Linked DNA regions of Homo sapiens: regions 2, 3 and 4 are each linked to region 1. The links are contacts of gene promoters, found by promoter capture Hi-C in blood cells and fetal thymus (Javierre and others, 2016). All regions are on one chromosome and are shown on one strand. The core of a region is centred on a gene start or on the middle of the fragment in contact, and the rest is flanking DNA. Distances in the headings are between cores, read along the strand shown. Region 1 holds the start of PF4V1 (platelet factor 4 variant 1). Region 2 has its middle 12 kb from the start of CXCL8. Region 3 has its middle 12 kb from the start of PF4. Region 4 has its middle 30 kb from the start of CXCL8.

Region 1 (5,600 bases), core at 973-3,472:
ACAAGCTGCGTCCTTCCCAAGACTGTCACCTCATCTCTATAATAGGAATAATACTAATTTGCAATGTGGATGTGGAAATTTTAGATGATATTCACAAGTCTCTGTAAATTTTGTTTATTTTAATCAATTTGTCATCCTAGGTACCTCCCTCCCTTCCAGCCCACCACAGAGATTGAACTGTACCATCTGTATTTTATCATAGATCTTAATCCTATCTGTACACATTGTCACATTAGGTTAAAATTGCACTAGCTCATGAACAAGGGTCTGTAGCTTTCTCCTGCCTCAAGTAGGTCTTGCCTTCTGGTCCATGGTGGTAGGCTGAATAATGCCCCCCACCCCTGAGATCCTTGTGTTCTACTCTCTGGACACTATGAATGTGTTGCTTAACATGGCAAAAAAAAAAAAAAAATATATATATATATATATATATATATATATATATATATATATATATATATCTTTGCAGATGTATTAGAGAACTTGAGTTGGAAAGCGTTTCTGAATTATCCAAGTGAGCCCAATGTATTCACACGCCTCCTTATGAGAGGTAAGCCGGATATAAAAGGTAGAAGAGTCAGCAGAGACAGAGGAGAAGTAGAGGTTGGTGTGATGCAGGTTGAAGACTGGAGAAAGGGCTATGAGGCAAGGAATGCTGGTGAAAAAGGAGAGGAAGTAGATTCTCTTCTAGAGCCTTCAGAAGGAATACAGCTCTGAGGACAGCTTGAGTTTAACCTTTAAGACTTACTTTGGACTTGAGACCCCTAGAATTACAAGACGATAAATTTGTGTTGGTTAAGCCACTGAGTTTGTGGTAATTTCTTACAGAAGCAACAGGAAACTAATATGCCCACATTATAACACCTTCATTTCTCCCCAGTGTAGAGCAATGTCTTCCTAAAGGATGAATGAAAATATTACCTCACACTTCTCTTAGTTCCCAGAATCTTAATATCACCAATGTTAAGGAATTTGTGGGGATAAAAGCAGAGTGTTGCTTATTTACTTCATTGAAAAAAAAAAAAGCTGTCGAGTAATGCTTAAGAGCTACTAATATTTATTGGCAAGCTAATTGTAACATTCAAGGTAAATATGTAGCTATAAAGTACTGCAATCACATAAATGAACAAATATGTATCAGCTAACATATAACACTGAACAAAATCAGTCTTTATTAAACCAAGCCTTCCTTCATAATGCTTTTTGCTTAAAATTCTGGAAATTTTAAAATATGAAATTGTGATGTGTCAGCATTATTTTTGCAGTATTATTAAGAAATAGATTGACTATACCACAACTTGATTTATTTCGTTAATATAATATAAGAAGGATAATACAAACATCAGAAGATTCTTTCACAGTTAGATTGAAAGTGCACACTTAGGCAGCTAGTAGCTAACTCTCCAAATGTTCCTTAATGATTTTCTTGTACAGCAGGGCTTGCAGATCCAAGCAAATTTTCCTCCCATTCTTCAGCGTGGCTCTGGCAGGGAAAAGAGAAGAGACGTGACTTTCAGTCCTTGGGTTTGCAAATGGCATTAGAAGGGGGAGGGATGGGCAGAGGAGGCACGGAGCGGGAGCACTAACTGATGCAGTGCGAGGACTCACATGAGTTGGGCAGTGGGGCAGTGGGGTCCGGCCTTGATCACCTCCAGGCTGGTGATGTGCCTGGGACGGACCTGGGAGGTGGTCTTCACACACAGGCACTGCAGGTCCCCATCTTCTTCAGCTTCAGCTGAGGGGGAAAGGGAGGGAGTAAGAGAGGAGGAGGGGTGGGAGTTGTGACTCCCTGAGTAGCCAGAGATACTTTAGGGACCTTTTCCACTACCTTCAGCTTTCTTTTCCTTAGCCGTAAATCAGACCTCTCTCAGACAGAGGTTGTGCTGATCAGGTGGCGAGGTGCACGTGCAGTGCCTGGCACTGTACCCGCAGACTCAGCACGCGCGCAATAAGAGCAGCTGCGATCATGATCCTAGAGGATTCCTCCCCAGCCCCAGGGCTTCCCGGACTCCCCCTCGCCGCTGCTGGCCCTCCCAGCCTGGTTTCTGCTCTCACCTCTGGCGAAGGCGACCACAACTGGCAGGAGCAGCAACGCCAAGAACAGCATCTCCTGGCGGGTGGCGCGGGTGAGGCGGGACCTGGCTGCGGAGCTCATGTTGCAGCTGAGGTTCCAGCAGGATCCCAGTGCGCAGGGAAAGTCGGGCTGGGGTTCTGCAGGCAGTGACTCCTGGCCTCACCAGGCTTCTTTTATCCCCCGTCACTGTCCCACTGTCCTTCCAGTCCGGAAGCCTGGGGTGGACAGCGAGGAACTGTGGTGCAGGAGCTAAGACACTGCTATGAAGACTCAGACTCTGGCCAGCCAAGATTACAAAACAAAAGGCTGGGGGCAGCTGCCTTGGCTAGGAGGTGGTACAAAGATGCATACCTCCAACCTCAGTTTATATACACTTACATTTGTGGAGTTAGAAACACTACTTGCATCTTAGAAGAGAAATATTTTCTGTGTTGTATCATAGTAGAGTTCTCTGTAGTCACCAAGCAACTTACACAGCAGGTGGCTTCAGGACCCAGACAGTTCTTGTTTCCTTCTCAACTCAAGAACTGCCCATATGCTCCTAACTTCAGTCTTGATTACCATTGAGTTTGATGGCTGTGTGTTTGAAGAGTGTGCTATTTGCAATTGTTTTCTAATACTAATAAGTTTAATTTGGTCTCTAGGTGATGACTCTTCTGAATTTCACCTGAATGTGGAAAACTTCCCTAGTCTCTGGATGAGATTTACCAGGCTCCACCAACAATCACCCAGTATACTGTAGGATGCAAGATCTATTTCCCGTTACTCTTAGAAAAATTGCAGAAGTAATATTTGAATGCATTATTTTTATAAAAACTTAGCTCCTGGATGTTTCTTCATTGTTTCAATCCTGAATAATAGTCCAGAAGAGAGGACAAGGAGAGTTTGCCAGGCCATGTCTTCCAGAGCCTGCTGTGTCCTCAGTCACTGCCAGTGACAGGGTGAGATGGGCTGCACTGTTGGCAGGGAGCAGTGATGCTCTCTGTGGGAGGATTCAGGGCATCTGGGAGTTGGGTGTGAGAATGATGGGAGGTGACAGTGAAGGGGATGCAACAGAATCCCACACGGGAAAGGGGAAGAGATCCATATCGACCGTTTTCTCTTCTCTAAAAAAGAATGACTTTGGCTCTTGATCAGGGCAAGGTACACCCTCAACCCAAAGCCCAAGGTTCCCTGTCACTCTGACTAACAGTGGTGAAGGGTGTCAGGGACCCACTGGATGGAACTAGCTGATATTCTAATGCTCAGCAAACCTGCATTTTTGTAGGAATATGCAATTCTTTCTCCTACTCTCCCTACACCTGCCTATTCAGCTGGCTAAGACCTATTCATATTTCTGGTGTCAGCTTAAATATCACTTCCTCAGGTGTGCCTTCCCTGACAGCTATATATAATTGTGTTCCCTTGTTGTTCTATCTTGCAGAACTCTGTTCTTCGTATTTCTCACAGAATACACAAACATACACACACATATATTGTAGATATATATATATATATGTGTGTGTATGTGTATCTGTGTATTTAAAAGTGTTTAAAATTGTTTTGTTTCTTAAATGGAAAACACTGTGACATTAGATATCATAACGTTTATCACTATTTCAATGTACTGGTAGGGACTCAGTGCAAAGTAGCTACAGTAGTGAAGATAATGTGTTGAAAATGATGATGATGAGGCTTTGACGTGTTCCTATGTCTATTCAATTGGAGCAATTAGAGCATATAATTGGAACATACATCTATATTGACACGTGTCACATATGGTCAAAATTATTTGTCCACTTGTCTGCCTCTCCCACAAGATAGTGATCTCTTCAATAGCAATTCTCTGTGACTTATGTGCAGTCACCCACCACATAACAACGTTTTGGGCAGTAATAGACTGTATAAGTGATGATGATCCCATAAGACTATAGTGGAGCTAAAAAATTCCTATTGCCTTGTGATACCATAGCTGTTGTAAAATCATAGCAAGCCAATGTATTATTCATGTGTTTGTGGTAATGCTGGTGTAAACAAACTTACTGTGCTTCCAGTTGCATAAAAGTATATGACATACAAGTATGTACAGTACATAAAAATGGATAATTATAATAAACAACACTGTTTCTGGTTTGTGTATTTACTATATTATACTCTTTAATCATTATTTTAGAGTGAACTCCTTCTCCTGCTAATGGAAGAAGAGTTAACTATGAATCAGCCTCTGGAAGGCCCTTCAGAAAATATTCCAGAAAAAGACATTGTTATTTTAGAAGATGACCACTCCATATGTCTTATTGCCCATGAGATAAGAAATGAATGTGGAAGAAAGTGATTGATGATTCTGACCTTGTATAGGCAAATTTTTATGTTGGAGTCTTAGTTTTCAATAAAAAAATTTAAAAGGTGAAAAAATTAAAAATTAAAAAGCTTATAGAATGAGAATAGAAAAGAAAAAATATATTTATATAGCTGTACAGTGTGTTTGTATTCTATGTGAAGTATTATTATGAAAGTGAAAAAGTTTAGAAAATTAACACATTTATAAAATAAAAATGTTACAGTAAGCTAAGGTTAATTTATATTGAATAAAGAAAAATATTTTTTAGAAACTTAGTGTAGCCTAAGTGTACAGTGTTTATACAGCCTGCAGGATCGGACTGTAATGTCCTGGGCCTTCACATTCGCTGATCACTCACTCACTGACTCACCTAGAGCAACTTCCAGTCCTGCAAGCTCCATTCATGGCAAGTGCTCTCTACAGGTTTACCATTTTCTATTTGAGCATACTTCTACTGTACCTTTTCTATGTTTAAATATATTTAGGCACACAAATACTTATCATTGTGTTACATTTGCCTACAGTATTCAATACAGTAGCATACTGTACAGGTTTGTAGCTTAGGAGCAATAGGCCATAACATATGGCCTAGGTGTGTAGTAGGCTATACTAGGTTTTTGTAAGTACACTCTATGATGTTTACACAATGAAAACAATTGCCTAGTGATGCATTTCCCAGAGCTTATCCCCATCGTTAAGCAATGTTTGACTGTATTTTTAAACATCTGGTGTACAACTCAATGGCTGTGGCAGAACATATTGTAATTCATACATTTCCATGGAACTGAAACTGAAGTTAACAGCGGAGAGAATAAATAAAAGGGATGGTTTTACATTTCAATGGGCAACATAGTAGGTCTGTACAATCTTACCCGGAGATTTCAATATTGGCAGCATACAGGAATTCAGGCAGCAGCGAGTGGCAACTAAACTACCCTTTCTCTGCATCTAAATAGAATAACTCAATAACTTCACACAAAAATAAGAGATACCTGCATCTCATGAAGAATAAATGTAGTGCCAACACTGTGTTATGTCTCAGGAGCTGGCGTTGACAAGTTTCAGTGGTAAAACACTACAGATATGAGTGAGATGCTTGAGCTACTTTGAATAATTGAGAAAAAAAACTAAGGAGAAGAATTGCAATTTGCATTTACTGCTTTATTACGTGTTTATTTATGTATCGTTTTGGCTATTATTTAATAT
Region 2 (5,077 bases), core at 2,024-4,523, 100 kb after region 1:
GCAGTGCATAGTTATACTCCACCTCCTAAAGGGAGCATATCACAGAAATTATTTGGAATTATTTTGCATGGTAAATGAGACTGCAAATTTTAGTCTCTTCATAACAATTTATTTATTTATTCAATCATTTATTTAGATCCATTTGGACTCATGAATATTTACTTTATATTTTGGGTTATAATACTACTTCATTTTGTTCTCAAGTTGTTCCAGCTTTGGCCATCATTCTAGCTTCAGTTAGCTCCTGGTCCTCTTTGACATACCATCATCAATTTTTTAATGGGGATGGGGACACTCCCTTATTTTCTGGCGCTAGAAGATGTTCATGGATCATCTTGTAGATTTCTTGCCTCAGTCCTACACTCAGCTACACTCATTTCTTCAAAGGTCCCTCATTCATTCATTTCATTGGAAAATGATTTTAGATACCAAGATTTGGGTTCTAGTTGTGCTTGTTGCTACTGGAGTGCTATTACTTCTAAGCCCTCTCAGATAACAAAGGAAAGAAATATATGTGTGCATACTAACCCAACTATATACACATATCTACAAATATTTCTATATGTATCCACCTGTATCTATATTAAGCTAACCATGAATTCATACTGATGTGTCCAACTCTAATTCATTACTCAAATCATTTTATCTTCCCCTCCTTGCTTATCTGAAAATGCTTAGAGTAACAGTGAGAAACCTGGCTCCTACCATTAGCCATCAATTATTCAATTAAAATGTTTAGAATACATGTATAGCAGCATCAGAATTGTGAACCCATAATACGTTTACATGCCATAGATTTTTCAGGAGTCAAATATTCAAAAGTTAAATCTTTAAAAGCTAATGTACTATGTTACATGGAAATCAAGTGCAAAAATGGCATTTATTCTATTCCCAATACATACCACATGGAGTACACCACATTTAAAATCAGAGTCATGTAGTTTTTCTCACTGTAAAGTGAGGGGTCAGAAAACCTATCACACTGTGCATGGTAAATACATACGATTTTATATCTCAATTAAAAATATATGAATAAACACAAGGTTTTAAAAGATTTAGATAATAGGAAGGATATAGATGGAAACACATATAAACAGTTTGTATAGAATCTATGTGACATTACATGTGAAAGATATAACAAATTTTACTCAGTACATATTACTACTAACTCTTCTCTCCATTTTGAGATAAGGAAAAATGAGACAATTTTAGTTAACTAGGAGATTAGAAAGATTATTTTGGGAAGAAGTTTAGTGCTAGAAAAGGGACTTAGAAGTAGAAGTCATAGTCCTTTTCATAGCCGCACAGAAGCCTCTAAAACTAACCCACAACATAAGATGGATAAGATGGGTCAGGAAGATAGAAAAAGAAAGAAAATGCTAAGATTTTCCTCTCTCTTCAGAATAAAGCATTATATTTTACAAATGTCCTTCACCAACTCTAAGGCTCATTTAAGATTTACAAAAAGATCTTGGAATATGATATTTTTTAATATTCAGAAATTTTTCAATGAGCTCAATAATAACAAAATATTTCTTGTTTCCTAAACAAGAAAGTTTAGGAATGAGTTTTTCACAAAACATGACTAGCACATACTAAGGAAAATAAAACAAGTTGGGGAGAAGGATGATTCACCTACGTCATAGCAGAGCTGCTGGAGACCTGCAGAGAGGTGACTAGAAATGAGTTGTCTCTTTAATAACATGTTTCAAAATGGGATTCCTGTAAGAGGCATGGTGGATACCTTTGGAAGCATATAGAAAAAATAAATCTAAGCAGAAGTATCTACTTATAGAATAGTTTCCCCACAAATGCTTCATTTAGAGGAACACTAAAAATGAAAGTGTAAAGGCAAAGTAGCATGCAGTAAGTGGCAGATTAAATTAGGATCTAATTAGTGATCCTAATTTAGGATCTATTTAGATAGTGGAATCATATCACAACATGATTAAAATGTAAGGTAAACTATCCCCTATGAAATACAATTGCTTGATACCTTAAGTTTATTCTCATCTGTTGCACTATAATCTTTTACAAAGTTATTGGAACATTCATCCAGATACATCTGAAACAAACTTTGGGTGGAAACTTCTGTGAATGTTTTCATATCTTTGTTTTTCATCAAGAGATACCTTTGTGTATCTATTTAATTTAATTTTTATGGAATGCAAAGTACATAGAAATCCCTCTTTCTCCATTCATTGTAAGAGCTGGATTCTTTGACTTAAGTAATCATTTAGAGGATTCTTGATTTTCTGTTTTGAAAATCTTGTGAGATGGAATTGTCGATTTACTCTGATGCATTGGAAAAGTTTCTATCTGTTGTCTGTGTTTTCAGCAAACTCAGCTGATGGTTACCAAACTTGAGACAATTGCTATCTGGACGTCTTTTAAAGTGAATAATGGAGAAATGACTGGTTTCTTAGACTTTTTGTTGTTATTGCAGAGTTAGTACATTCTTACGCAATTTTCACTTGCTGTATTATTATCACAAGCCAAAAGCAAAATAATTTTTTATCCTTCTCAAGTTTTGAAATATAAACTGAATGTAAAAATAGGTGTATTGTAATAAAAAATTATTACTTATTTAACAAAATCTTGAAAATAAAATATTTTTGCCTAGGTACTTCAACTGATGAATCTATTTCTGGATGCATTTCTAGCAAAACAAATGTCATTTATGAAAATTCTTGATTTTGTATGTTGTATGTACAACATATGTATTATGGTATTTTACATGTAATGCAATTTTAGGGTGAACACTTTATTATCTTTATATATCTTTTATTTTGTGTGTTTCTGTATATTTAAATTCATGCTTCTATTCAGTAAAATTAGACAAGTGATTTAAGATCACACAAATGGATCAACGGTATGTGATAATATATCTTTCATGTAGTTTGTTTCTAAGGCTGGGTCTATACAAATAAATACATATTTGTATACATAACTATACATATACAACTATCTATATACATCCTTATATACATTACTATTATCATTGAAGAAAAATAAAGCAAAAAATGTTAATTCAGCAAATTGCTTGACCTTTCTCTCTCACTCACATGCTCACATTCTCCCTCTCTTTTTCATTTTTCCTTTTTTTGGCTTATTTACATGATGGCACATTTTCAATTTGACCTACTTGATTGCCTTTTAGATGGAATACTTCACTGTCTTGTAGACAGTGACAATATAGATGAGAAAGTAAAGAAATAATCTGGCATATTTTAAAGGTGATAAAGATGGAATTGAGAGGTAGTGCTTAAAAGTATTCATTATTAAGATACACTGAATTGGTACAGATATTCTCATTTTGCTTTTAGGGTTGGATACTGATGATATTAATATGATGTTAAAACCTCACATTAAGAGGTTTTGTTTAGAGTCAGAAGTTAGTTCTTTGATTCAATCTCCAAATGGCACGAAGAAGTTTCTAAGATTAAGCACTTTAGGTTGCTTTTGTGGCCTCCCACTTCCATCTGGAAACACCTCGGAGGAAGAATGGCATGTAGTGTTCACAACTCAAAATTAGGCAAATTGGAGTGCACTAGAAGTTTTCCATTCTAACTCTAAGCCCTTTAGAGCAATGTATTGTCTATTGTCTTAGCTTTAGCTGTTAGCACTTGTTCTGTTTCACGCCAAACTCTAGTCATACTGAAATTCTTTCACTTCTTAAATCATATCAAGCTCTTGCCTACACATTACTTTTTCTCACTGTCTAGACTCCTTTCCTACACATTCTTCTTCCCTTTGTGTGGCTAACTCCTACTCATGCTTCAGACTCTAAACGTTCTCATGGAAATCTAGGCTAGTTAGATTAGATAACCCCTGCTTGCCTGCTTCCAAATGTTAACCAAAGACCATGAGATCTGTAGAGGGAAAGGAGTAGAGCTTTATTTTTTATAATTTTTTTAAATCTATAGATTGGGGAGGCATGCTTTTTAGTACAAGTGGAAGTGTGCTTTCTGGATAACAAGGAGAAGGTTCAAGATTTTATGAAATGGGAAAATGTTACATATTGCTCTTTGAGAAATTTCATTAGCACTAGTAAGATTTTAAGGTTCTAGCAAACTCTGATAGGTAAGTGACAGCAGTGGGCAAAACTAGTCAGAGAGTTTGAGCAGCTTTCAGCAGTTAGATCAAACTGGTTTCAGGTTATAGCAGGCAGCTTTAGCTGCCCAGCTTGCAGAGAATTACATCTTTTGAGCAATGTTTTGTGCTGGGTGCTTTCCCCCCACCCCACCCCCTCCCTGGCCTCCCAACTCTGTTTTAGTTGAGTGACAAAAATGATCCAATTCATATGATCAACTTTCATGCAAATAACTTTGGTACATCTCCTAGCAATATTTTATTAAACTTACTTATTTCTATCTGTTTTATTTACTTATCAATGAGATACACAAGATGAGAAACTGAAAAATGGGAGTGGGACAAGGGATCTTGAATGTGAAGAGGAGAATATGGAAACGAAGATTAGGCAGAACCCTGAAGAAAAAGAAGCCCCGCAACATAGCAAGAGAAGAAATATAGGCAGGAAAAAATCCTCTTCTAAAGGGAAACAACGAAGTTGTTTCTAAACAGCGAATACCAGGTAGAATTTTCAGTTGGTTCCTACTGGTGTGTCACTTTTAAATCTTGCATTGATTCTATTATGCTGAATACCTATGTGTTAATATGCACTGGGAGTTATAAAAGAGACCAGAGAGATAATAGCAACTATAGGTACCCAGAGCAATTGTTAAGAAGCTAAATGACATAGGAAAAGCAGGTTGCAATGTGAACTAACTAGTGAGAAAATAAGAGAAGACTTTCTTCCTCACTCTAAATGTCCTATAGCATATTTTCTAAATACGAAAGAAAGAGGGAACCCTTTGTGACTTCAGATCATCTGGAATATGCAAACCTGATTAATGAAAGTATCTCAGCCTATGTCTTCCTTGCAGTCTTTAGATGTCTTACTAATACCAGTGTTTTCACATAGATTGATTGGCTTTGAATCAATTCAATAAGCCACCTCGTCTAACTCTTCCCGTCAAGGCTAACAGCTATAATTTTCTCTAAAGGCTACTGGGAA
Region 3 (5,020 bases), core at 2,230-4,729, 120 kb before region 1:
ATATTCCTTCAATGTCTATTTTATTGAGGGTTTTTAGCATGAAAAGATATTGAATTTTATCAAAAGCTGTTTTTGCATCTATTGGAATAATCATGTGGGTTTTATCTTTAGTTCTGTTCATGTGATGAATCACATTTATTGATTTTCATATGTTGACCCATCCTTTATCCCAAGGATAAAGCCTACTTGATCATGGTGTATAAGCTTTTTGATGTGTGCTGGATTTGGTTTGCCAGTATTTTGTTGAGGATTTCTGTATCAATGTTCATCAAGGATATTGGCCTGAAGTTTCTTTTTTTGTTGTGTCTCTGTCAGGTTTTGGTATCCAAATGATGCTGGCCTCATAGAATGAGCTAGAGAGGAGCTCCTCCCTCAGTATTTTTCGAATAATTTTGGTAGAAATGGTAACAGCTCTTCTTTATACACATGGTAGAATTCTGCTGTGAGTCTGTTGGGTCCTGACTTTTTTTGATTGGTTGACTTTTTATTACTGATTTGATTTTGAAACTTATTATTGGCCTGTTTAGGGATTAAAATCTTTCCTGGTTTAGTCTTGGGAGGGTGTATGTGTCCAGGAATTTATCCATTTCTTCTAGATTTTCTAGTTTGTATGCATAGAGGTGTTCATAGCAGTGTTTGATTTTTCTTTCTGTATTTCTGCAGGGTCAGTGGTAATGTACCCTTTGTTAACTCTAATTGTGTTTATTTGGGTCTCCTATCTTTTCTTCTTTATTACTCTACCTAGTGGTGTATCTATTTTATTAGTTTTCAAAAAAACAACTTCTAGATTTCTTGATCTATTGTATGGTTTTCTGTGTCTCAGTTTCTTTCAGGTCAGCTTTAATTTTGGTTATTTCTTGTCTTCTGCTAGCTCTGGGGTTGATTTGCTCTCGCCTCTGTATTTCTTCTAGCTGCAATGTTAGGTTGCTAATTTGAGATCTTTCTAACTTTTTGATGTAGGCATTTACTGCTATAAATTTCCCTCTTAATACTGCCTTAGCTGTGCCCCAGATATTCTGGTATGTTTTATTTTTGTTTTCATTACTATTAAAGAACTTCTTGATTTCTGCTTCAGTTTCATTATTTACTCCAAAGTCATTCAGGAGCAGATTGTTTAATTTCCATGTAATTTTCTGATTTAGAGTGACTTTCTTTGTATTGATTTCTATTTTTACTGTGCCATTGGCTGAGAAATGTGGTTGGTATTATTTCAATTTTTTAAAATATTTGAGGATTGTTTTATGTCTGATTGTGTAGTTGATTTTAGAGTATGTGCCATGTGGCAATGAAAAGAATATATATTCTGTTGTTTTGGGTGAAGAGTTTTATAGATGTCTATTTAGTCTCTTTGGTCAAGAATTGAGTTCAGCTCCTAAATATGTTTGTCGATTTTCTTCCTCAATGTTCTAAAACTGTAAGTGGATTGTTGAAGTCTCCCACTATTATTGTGTGACAATATAGGTCACCTTTTGGGTCTCCAAGAACTTTATCAATCTGGGTGGTCTTGTGTTGGGTGCATACGTATTTAGGACAGTTACATGTTCTTGTTGAATTGAATCTTTTACCATTATGTATACCCTTCTTTGTCTTTTTAATTCTTGTTGGTTGAAATTCTATTTTGTCTGAAATTAGGATTACTATCCCTGCTTTTTTCTGTTTTCAATTTGCTTGGTAGATTTTTCTTCATGCCTTTATTTTGCACCTATGTGTGTCACTGCATGTGAGATGTGTCTCTTGAAGACAGCATACCAATACATCTTGGTTTTTTAACCAGTTTGCCATTCTGGGCCTTTTAATTGGGGCATTTAGCTCATTTACATTCAAAGTTAGTGTTAATATGTATGGATTTGATCCTGTCACCATGTTTTCAGCTGGTTATTTTGCAGACTTGTGTGCTTGCTTTATAGTGTCACTGGTCTGTGTACTTAAGTGTGTTTTTGTAGTGGCTAGTAAGAGTATTTTCTTTCCATATTTAGAGCATCTTTCAGGACCTCTTCTAAGGCAGGCCTGGTGGTAATGAATTTCCTCAACATTGCTTCTCTGAAAAGGATTCTATTTCTCCTTCACTTATGAAGATTATTTTAGTTGGATATGAAATTCTTGGTTGGAAATTTTTTCTTTAAGAATGTTGAATATAGGTTCCCAATCTCTTCTGGCTTGTAGAGTTTCTGCTGAAAGGTCCACTGTTAGCCTGATGGAGTTCTCTTTGTAGGTGACCGTACCTTTCTCTCTATCTGCCTTTGACATTTTTTTCTTTTATTTTGATACTAGAGAATCTCAAGATTATGTGTTTTCCAAGTTGCTTGCTTTCTCTCTGGCTCTTTCAGGGACACCAATAAGTCATAGATTTGGTCTCTTCATATTATTCTATGTTGCTCTGATATTTTGTTCATTCTTTTTTATTGTTTTTGCTTTATTTCTGGCTGACTGAGTTATTTCAGAGTCAACCTGCAAGCTCTGAGATTTTTTTCCTCCACTTGATCTATTCTGCTGCTAATACTTGTGACTGTATTACAAAATTCTTGTAGTGTATTTTTCAGCTCTATCAGATGTTTTTTAAAAATATGATTTAATCTATTAGCTCCTGTATTATTTTATTGTGATTGTTAGATTTTTTGTATTGAATTATTTAATGGTCTCCCAAATCTCGATGATCTTCATTCCTATCCATAATCTGAATTCTATTTTTGTCATTTCAGCTATTTCAGCCCAGTTAAGAATCCTTGCTCAGAAACTAGTATAGCCATTTTCAGGGAATAAGACACTCTGGCTTTGTGATTTGCTAGAGTTCTTTTATTTGTTCTTTCTCATCTGTGTGGATGGGTTTACCTTTAACTGTGGTATAAATTGAAGACCACCAGTAGACTTCTTTTTTAGATGCTTTCAGAGGGCCAAAGCTTTTTGCAGGGTCCTTATTTTTAGCTGAATTCTTGTCATTGATATCACAGAAGGGTATATTAACAAATTATTTTTGGTGTTGAAATTTTGGGCTGCAATCCAGTAGGTGGTACTTAAGTGTAATGGCCAGTAGGCAAGCTTTTGCTCAGTCACATGGCTTCTCTGTATTTCTTCATGACTATAGCCATGCTCCTTCTCAGCACTCTGAAAGTAAGAGTTCCTCTCTCACTTCAGTGCTGGCTGAAGATGTCAATTTAACACTGCTGGGCTGTGTATCTCAGCTCTGGGGCAATGTCAGGCTTTATGTTCCCTCCCAAGCTTAGAGGTAACAGGGGAAAGGAACTTTGCAGTGGTTGTGATAGAGAGTCTTTCACTTATCTTTTGGGGCTCCATCTTGAGAGGTGTGGAGCTGCTATCAGTCAGTGTGATCAACTTGGGTTGCGGCAGCTGTCCTGTGAGCCCAAGCCAGGGAGGCATACCTTGTGACAAGTGAGTGGCGGGGAAAGAGGGCAGACAGACCAGTAACCTCTCCATAGGGCAATTAATGCTTGCTCAAGGTGCAGTTGAAGCACTAAGGGTCTTTGCTCATTCCCCAGGGCAAGGGCAGAAAGGGCAGTACCACTGCAGTGGCAGTGGTAGAGGGGTTTTCAGTAGCCTCTGGGAACTCTACCTCTGAGAACCATATAGCCACAGTTCCTGGGAATGTTCAGCCAGGGGTTGAGGTGGCTGCACTGGTAGCCTGAGCTGAGGACCCCTCCTAGTTGGGGACTTGGGGGTTGAGGGTTTACAGGGAGGAGAGACTGGCTTCCTCTCTGTATAGTGACTATGGTGTGCTGTAAGCTTGGGTGAAGCCCTCAGGCTCAGTTTCTTCCCCAGCCTGTGAACAGAAGAGACAGAACATTGTTGTGACAGTGGCAGAAAGGAACATTGATTGCCTCTTGGAGCCCCTTCCCAGGAAATTCAGAGCCACTACCAGTGGGTATTCTCAGCTGTTTGTGGGGCATCTAAACTGTGGACCTGAGCAGGGGCCCTGCCTGCTGAAGAGTGGGTGCTGGGGGCTCACAGGGAAGGTAGACTGAACTCCTCTCTGTATGGTGGCTGTGGAGTGCTTGGGTGCCAGTGAAGTGACTAGGCCCTTTGTTCCTTCCTCAGCCGAAAGGTGGTTAGGGCAGTACTACTGCAGCTGCAATGGCCAAGAGGTTGTGGGTTGACTCTGAGATTTCCTCCTCAGAGAAATGCTGAGCTGCCCCCAACTGAAGTGTTCAAGTGGGGGCAGGGTGGTTGTGCTGGAGTCCAAGGTTAGGAGGCCTCACCAACTAAGGAGAAGTTGGGATGAGAACCTGCATGTAAAACAGTCTGGCCACTTTTTGATGAAGCAGCTGCACTGTGCTAGGGTTACATGTTAGTCCCTCGTCACCACATACTCTCCAGAGCCTGAAGGCAACAATAGTGAGGGCTGTGAGAAAGCAAAGATGGCAGCCTACCACTCCCTTTAGGGGCTCTGTGTCATGGAAATGCAGAGCTGCTACCAACCTGAGAGCCCTGATGGGAAGTGGTTGGAGTCCCAGGTTGGGAGCTCCCATCCACTGAGGAGAAATGTGGGATCCACATAAAAAAAAGAGTCTGGCCATTTTTCTGTGGGACAGCTGTGCTGTGCTGGGGGTTTGTGCCAGTCCCTAGTCACTGTAGGCTCTCCAGAGCCTGAAGGCAACAACAGTGAGGGCTGCAAGGCAGGAAAGTTGCTGCCCCCTTGCCCTGGAGATCTGTCCTGGGGAAGTGCAGAGCTGCTACTAGCCTCATAACCCCAGTGGTGGGAGGCTGGAGTCCTAGACCAATGGGTCTCATCCTGTGAGGTGCAGTGTAAGTGAAGCCTGTAGACAGTTGCTGCTCAACCCCCTGGATTTGGCTCCTTTCCTGGATGTGTGTAAAGGAGACTAACTTCCCCCTTTGCCAGAGCTGAAGCCACTAATGCTGGAATGCCTGGGGATCAAAGGCTTTTGGGACTTTGGCTATGCCTCAGCAGTGGCTCTGCTGAGACTCCCATAGCTTTGCATATCAGTCTGAAGGTTTTTGTGGGATGAGCTCACAAGGGCATCTCCTGAGACCAGGGCTTGCAAAGATC
Region 4 (4,883 bases), core at 912-3,411, 82 kb after region 1:
ACAATTTTTACAACTCTTCTTTAAATCTAATATTATTTTAAAATCAAAATTTAAAAAAAACAAATGCCTACAATACATTATTTTACTATTGTCATAATGAAGCAAGAATTTTTATAAGTAGATAAAAATACATAGATAACACACACTTAGGGAGGTTATATATCTTTATTTCCTGTATGTTTGGGGGCCCAGGATATTAGGAATTAAATTTACTGGGTATATATAATAATCCTTAATACAACATGAATTATCCAGAAAGACGTATCTACTTAAAATATATTTAGCATTTAGTTAGGTTTATTCCAAGTGAAAAGAGAAAATATAGACAATCTTTAATGCATTCTTAACTTTTTCTATATTCTTTCTACAACCCCAATGACCCAGACACATTAAAATTACTTAATTATTGTTTATTCCTGGATGTTAGGGAACTGAAACTTCTTTCAAGTTCTCAAAATATCTCCACATAAATGCTTGTGATATATTGCTTTGTGACTATATTAGTACAAAGTCACAAAAATAAATTCAGGAACTCAGAAAATCTATCCAAATTAACAAAGTATAGACAATTCACAGTGATATAACAATAATTTTTTAAAGCCTGCATAGAAAATTCAAGTGGAATATTTTTAGAGGATCATAAAATTTGCGATATTGTCTGAGATTCATTCTGAGGCACTCGGGTTGAAGACTTTAACATATGAATTTAGGAATAGGGGAAAAGTTTAGCCCCCAGCATAGTCCTTGTAGTAAATTGGTGCTATTTCGAAGCTTTCTAAAAATAGCATAAATTAGTAAAGTTGTACTAACTATTTATATTTCCAAAGTGGAAGACGATTTTGACAAATTAGCAATAAATACATAAGTCAGTGGGGGAAAGTTTTAAGAAACACAGTGTTTTACAACTGTTTCATGAAGAGTCACTCAAGATACCTTAATTATTATTCACTAAGTGATGTGTGTGGAACCAGTGAAGGCTCCTGAGTCAAAGGTCAGAGCTCTCCTCTCTGTGTTCCTGCCATACTGCTTTATTTTTATTTATCCTGTAAGAGCATGGACAACAATGATCCTACACCCTTGTAATACAGCACTTAGCACAGTGTTCACTGTTGGTGTTCAATAAATAGCACTTCTTTACTCTCACCAGGAGTCCCTAAGAAGAATGCATGAATTAATTTGAGGCACATTAACATCAGCTATTCAGACTGCTTCTTATCATGTGGACATGTGAGGTGGTAGAGACAATAATAGCTTGCACTACTGAATTAGATAAAACATATTTTATCAACAAAATGGTACATGCTCACCATTGTTTCTGAACATTTATTGACACACTTCTTTTTTGAGAGGAGTGGGTTCAAGATAAATTTTCTATTCTTGAAAGATAGATGATAGATAATAGATCAACATAGTTGATACATATATCTAAGATACAATATATAATATTTATTATATATCTTGTCTTCTCTATGGCCATACATCCTGAACACACCCAATCTCATCTGATCTCCAAATGTTTAAAAATTATTACATGCCATCATTTTGAGCAACATCCAGGTGATCTTACTGTGTCAAAAAGGGAAGAAAAAGAAATCATAATAAGGAACGGTGCAGACCTGGCTTCACTAAGGTGGAGATGGCCAATGCAAGGACACAGAGAAACCATCTCATGTATATGCCACAAGTAGCAAGGATTCCCAGAAAACGCATGAAGAAATAAAACTATCCTCCCTAATAGTTCTGTCAGCCTACTCATGAAAGCATGTCTTTTGGTAGTGAAGAAGAATATTTCCCTGACCCTTTCACAGGACTCACAACAGAGGTGCCTCATTTACTCAGTCAGCAGCTTTCAACTCTTGTGGGAGGGAGCACGCTATCAAATGAGGCAGGAACTGGATTGCATGAGCCCTGGAACCAGCTGGCTGCTTTGGTGCCAGCAGGAGCAAACTCCACTCACTTGCACCTGCTGTGTTCCACCCCTTTCAGGAGGGAGTGCACAGGTGAGCGAGTGCAGGAGCCAGGGCAAGCACATTTAGGCACTGGCAGGAGCAAACTCCATGTGGGCTTTGCAGCAGCATCAATGGGATGGTGCCTGTGACCCCTGAAGTCCCAGAGGACATGTTACAGTATTCTTTTAGCTCTCCCATCCACAGACAGCTAAAATGTTAATAGTTCAGTGGGACTTCTTTCTTTTCATGTGAGGTGGCTGCCTTCTGCCAGCGAGGGAAAAGGGCCAGTATGAAGCCTTTTGTATTCACACTTGTGGCTCCCAAGCTGTTGTCAGGTGTCCACGGAAAATGATGTCGCATGAATGATTTAAAGGATGGTAAATGTGGGAGATTTTATTGCCAATGAAAGTGGCTCTCAGTGGGAAAGAGAGCTGAAAAGGGGAAGTAATCTTCCCCTGAAGTCCAGCCATGTTCAGCAGGATTCTTCTCCAAAGTTACGTGGTCAAGCCATCCCTCTGAAGTCAAGCCACTTCTCTCCAATGTCTAGCTGTAGTCCCCAAGGTCCAGCTGCTTCTTCCCTCTGCTGGCTGAGTCTGGAGTCATTATAGGCACAGGATGGGGTGGGGCAGGGTCATGGGTGACTTAGGAAAAGGCAAAGTTCGCATGGGAAAACAGTTCTCACTTTGGCCATGGTCTCGGGCTTTTCAGCTTGAGGATAGGGCTTCACCAGGGACCTGCCCTTTTTTACCTAGAATTTCTCTGCCTCCTTTCCCCATCATTTCCCTTTTCAAAGCGGAACATCTCACTGCCATTAGAATACAGACAATGACCGATCTTAGCTACTTTCTGCTTACTGGGGACACTGTTTTGAAGAAAACAGTGGTCAGATTTCCCTCAGAGGTTTACCTAAGGGCCTCTGGTAAAAGGGAGCCATTGTCCGAGGCTCCAGTTACATGACCCTTTGGAATTTGATCGCCTTTAGGTGAGAAGAAACAAGTTTTACAGGGATAAGTTTGCATGGATCAAATATATGTATTATACAAAACGGGGTTAAAAGGAGATAATCTGGTGACAAAGTTTACAGAAATAAGAAGTAAAATATACTATTCCTTCTAGACACAATATTGTATCCTGCAGTATAGAACAGAATAAAGGTAAAAACAGCGAACATAGGCAAGACTATAAAGAGGATATCCATGGAAGTTTAACACTTATCTTTTGTAATTTTTAGCTTGAGGTCCCCAACCTCTTCATATTGGTACTTTGGGTACTCTTTGGGTTCATCAGCTTCCCAGGCATTTACATGGGTGTAATAAATTCAAGAATCTATTCCAGTGACCTATTGTAAAAGACAGGTGGCTGCTTTCAGGAGGTTCTCTAAAGTACTATCTGGTCCCAGGGCCTGTTTCTGCAGCTTCCTCCTGATCTCAGGGGCTGCCTGAGTAATAAATTTATCCTTTAGGATTAGTTGTCCCTTAACTGAATCAGGAAGTAGAGAGTTGTGCTTCACCAAGGCCTCTTTTAACCTTTCCAGGAGAGCAGTGGGATTCTCATCAAATACCTGGTCTATCATGGATAACTTAGAATAATTGAGAAGCTTAGTTCTAGTCCTACATAATCCCTCCATTATGCACACCTGAATGTGTCTCCTCTTCCATTCTCCCATCTTGTCAGTGAGATCCCATTTAGGGTTATCCAACGGTACTGCTTCTCTTCTAGTTGGATAAAGTTTGACCCCTTCCCTGACACTGTATGTAATAGAAAGCTCATTCCCCAAATCTCTCTGCCACTTGCAGAGTAGCCTGCTTCTCAGTGTTAGTCAGGCTTTGATTCAAAAGTAGCATAACATCTTCCCAGGAGAGTTCAAATACTTGAGTTAAGTTCTGGAAAGCCTCTATACATCTGTCAGCATCATGTGAAAACTTGCCAAGATCCCCCTTAATTGGCCTTAAGTCCTTTAGAGGGAAAGGGACCTGGATCTTACCAGGGACCAAATTCACCAGGCATCTGTTGGAGGGGCAAGAGTGGGACTGGGGCTTATCTAGGGTGAGGATTTCTAGGAGGGAGCAAACAGGAGAGATAAACTGGATAGGGAGGATGGGGTGGACCAAGAGGAGCAGGCAAGAGGGAGCTGGCTCCATTGCTAGAGGGGCCTCTGGGGTTCACCTCTTGTAGCCTTTCTGTGCATTGCAGAAAGGAAAATGATCAGATTATTTGGGGAATACTGGTCACTGGCTCTTAGCTGACATTCATTCCAGGGAACCCAAAATGCCACTGTGGTCCTCCAGTTAAAGTAGGGGCTTATGTAGGTCAGGTAATGTATGGAGTTTTAGCTAATGTCCCACTTCCAGTCAGTCCAATGGGTACCCAGACTCATCCTGTGGTTATTTCCCCAGTGCCAGAATCCATAATTCGCATAGACATACTTAGCAGCTGGTAGAATCCCCACATTGGCTCCCTGACTGGTAGGGTGAGGGTTATTATGGTGGAAAATGAAAGGCAGCTCAAATGGAAGCCATTAGAGCTGCCTCTACCTAAAAAAATAGTAAGTCAAAACAATATTGCATCCCTGAAGAGATTGCAGAGATCAGTGCCACCATGAAGGACTTGAAAGATGCAGATCCCTGTTCAACTCTCCTATTTGGCCCATACAGAAGATAGATAGATCTTGGAGAATGACAGTGGATTACTGTAATCTTAATCAAATGGTGACTTCAATTTCAGCTGCTGTACCAGATGTGGTTTCATTGCTTGAACAAATTAACACACCTCCTGGTACCTGGTATGCAATCACTGATTTGGCAAATGCCTTTTCCTCCCTTCTTGTCCACAAGGCCCAGCAGAAGCAAATTGCCTTCAGCTTGCAAATTGCCTTCAGCTGTCCTACCTCAGGGATCCATTACTCTCCAGCTTTGCATCATAATCTTGTTTGCA

The links. Contacts are between HindIII fragments. The CHiCAGO score rates a contact against its expected background, and 5 or more counts as called.
Region 2: a contact is called between a fragment that was not itself captured here and the fragment with the promoter of PF4V1 in region 1, in 1 of 17 cell types (neutrophils). The highest score is 11.1, in neutrophils.
Region 3: a fragment that was not itself captured here is called in contact with the fragment with the promoter of PF4V1 in region 1 in 1 of 17 cell types (neutrophils); the score reaches 5.5 in neutrophils.
Region 4: a fragment that was not itself captured here is called in contact with the fragment with the promoter of PF4V1 in region 1 in 2 of 17 cell types (neutrophils and M1 macrophages); the score reaches 17.7 in neutrophils.

What each region holds. Positions count from the first base shown.
Region 1 is chr4:73,849,918-73,855,517 of GRCh38, reverse strand. It overlaps PF4V1 (platelet factor 4 variant 1), which reads right to left and starts at 2,222. Exons shown (of 3, transcript NM_002620.4): 1 at 2,056-2,222; 2 at 1,609-1,735; 3 at 1,035-1,483. The coding sequence starts at 2,155. The coding sequence ends at 1,396. The HindIII fragment of the contact is 5,836 bases long and covers 1-4,485 here.
Region 2 is chr4:73,749,984-73,755,060 of GRCh38, reverse strand. No RefSeq gene overlaps it. Among named protein-coding and RNA genes, the nearest start is that of CXCL8, 12 kb to the right of the region's middle. The HindIII fragment of the contact is 9,638 bases long and covers 1-5,077 here.
Region 3 is chr4:73,967,888-73,972,907 of GRCh38, reverse strand. No RefSeq gene overlaps it. Among named protein-coding and RNA genes, the nearest start is that of PF4, 12 kb to the left of the region's middle. RefSeq lists an enhancer at 4,529-5,020. The HindIII fragment of the contact is 522 bases long and covers 3,219-3,740 here.
Region 4 is chr4:73,768,143-73,773,025 of GRCh38, reverse strand. No RefSeq gene overlaps it. Among named protein-coding and RNA genes, the nearest start is that of CXCL8, 30 kb to the right of the region's middle. The HindIII fragment of the contact is 2,775 bases long and covers 774-3,548 here.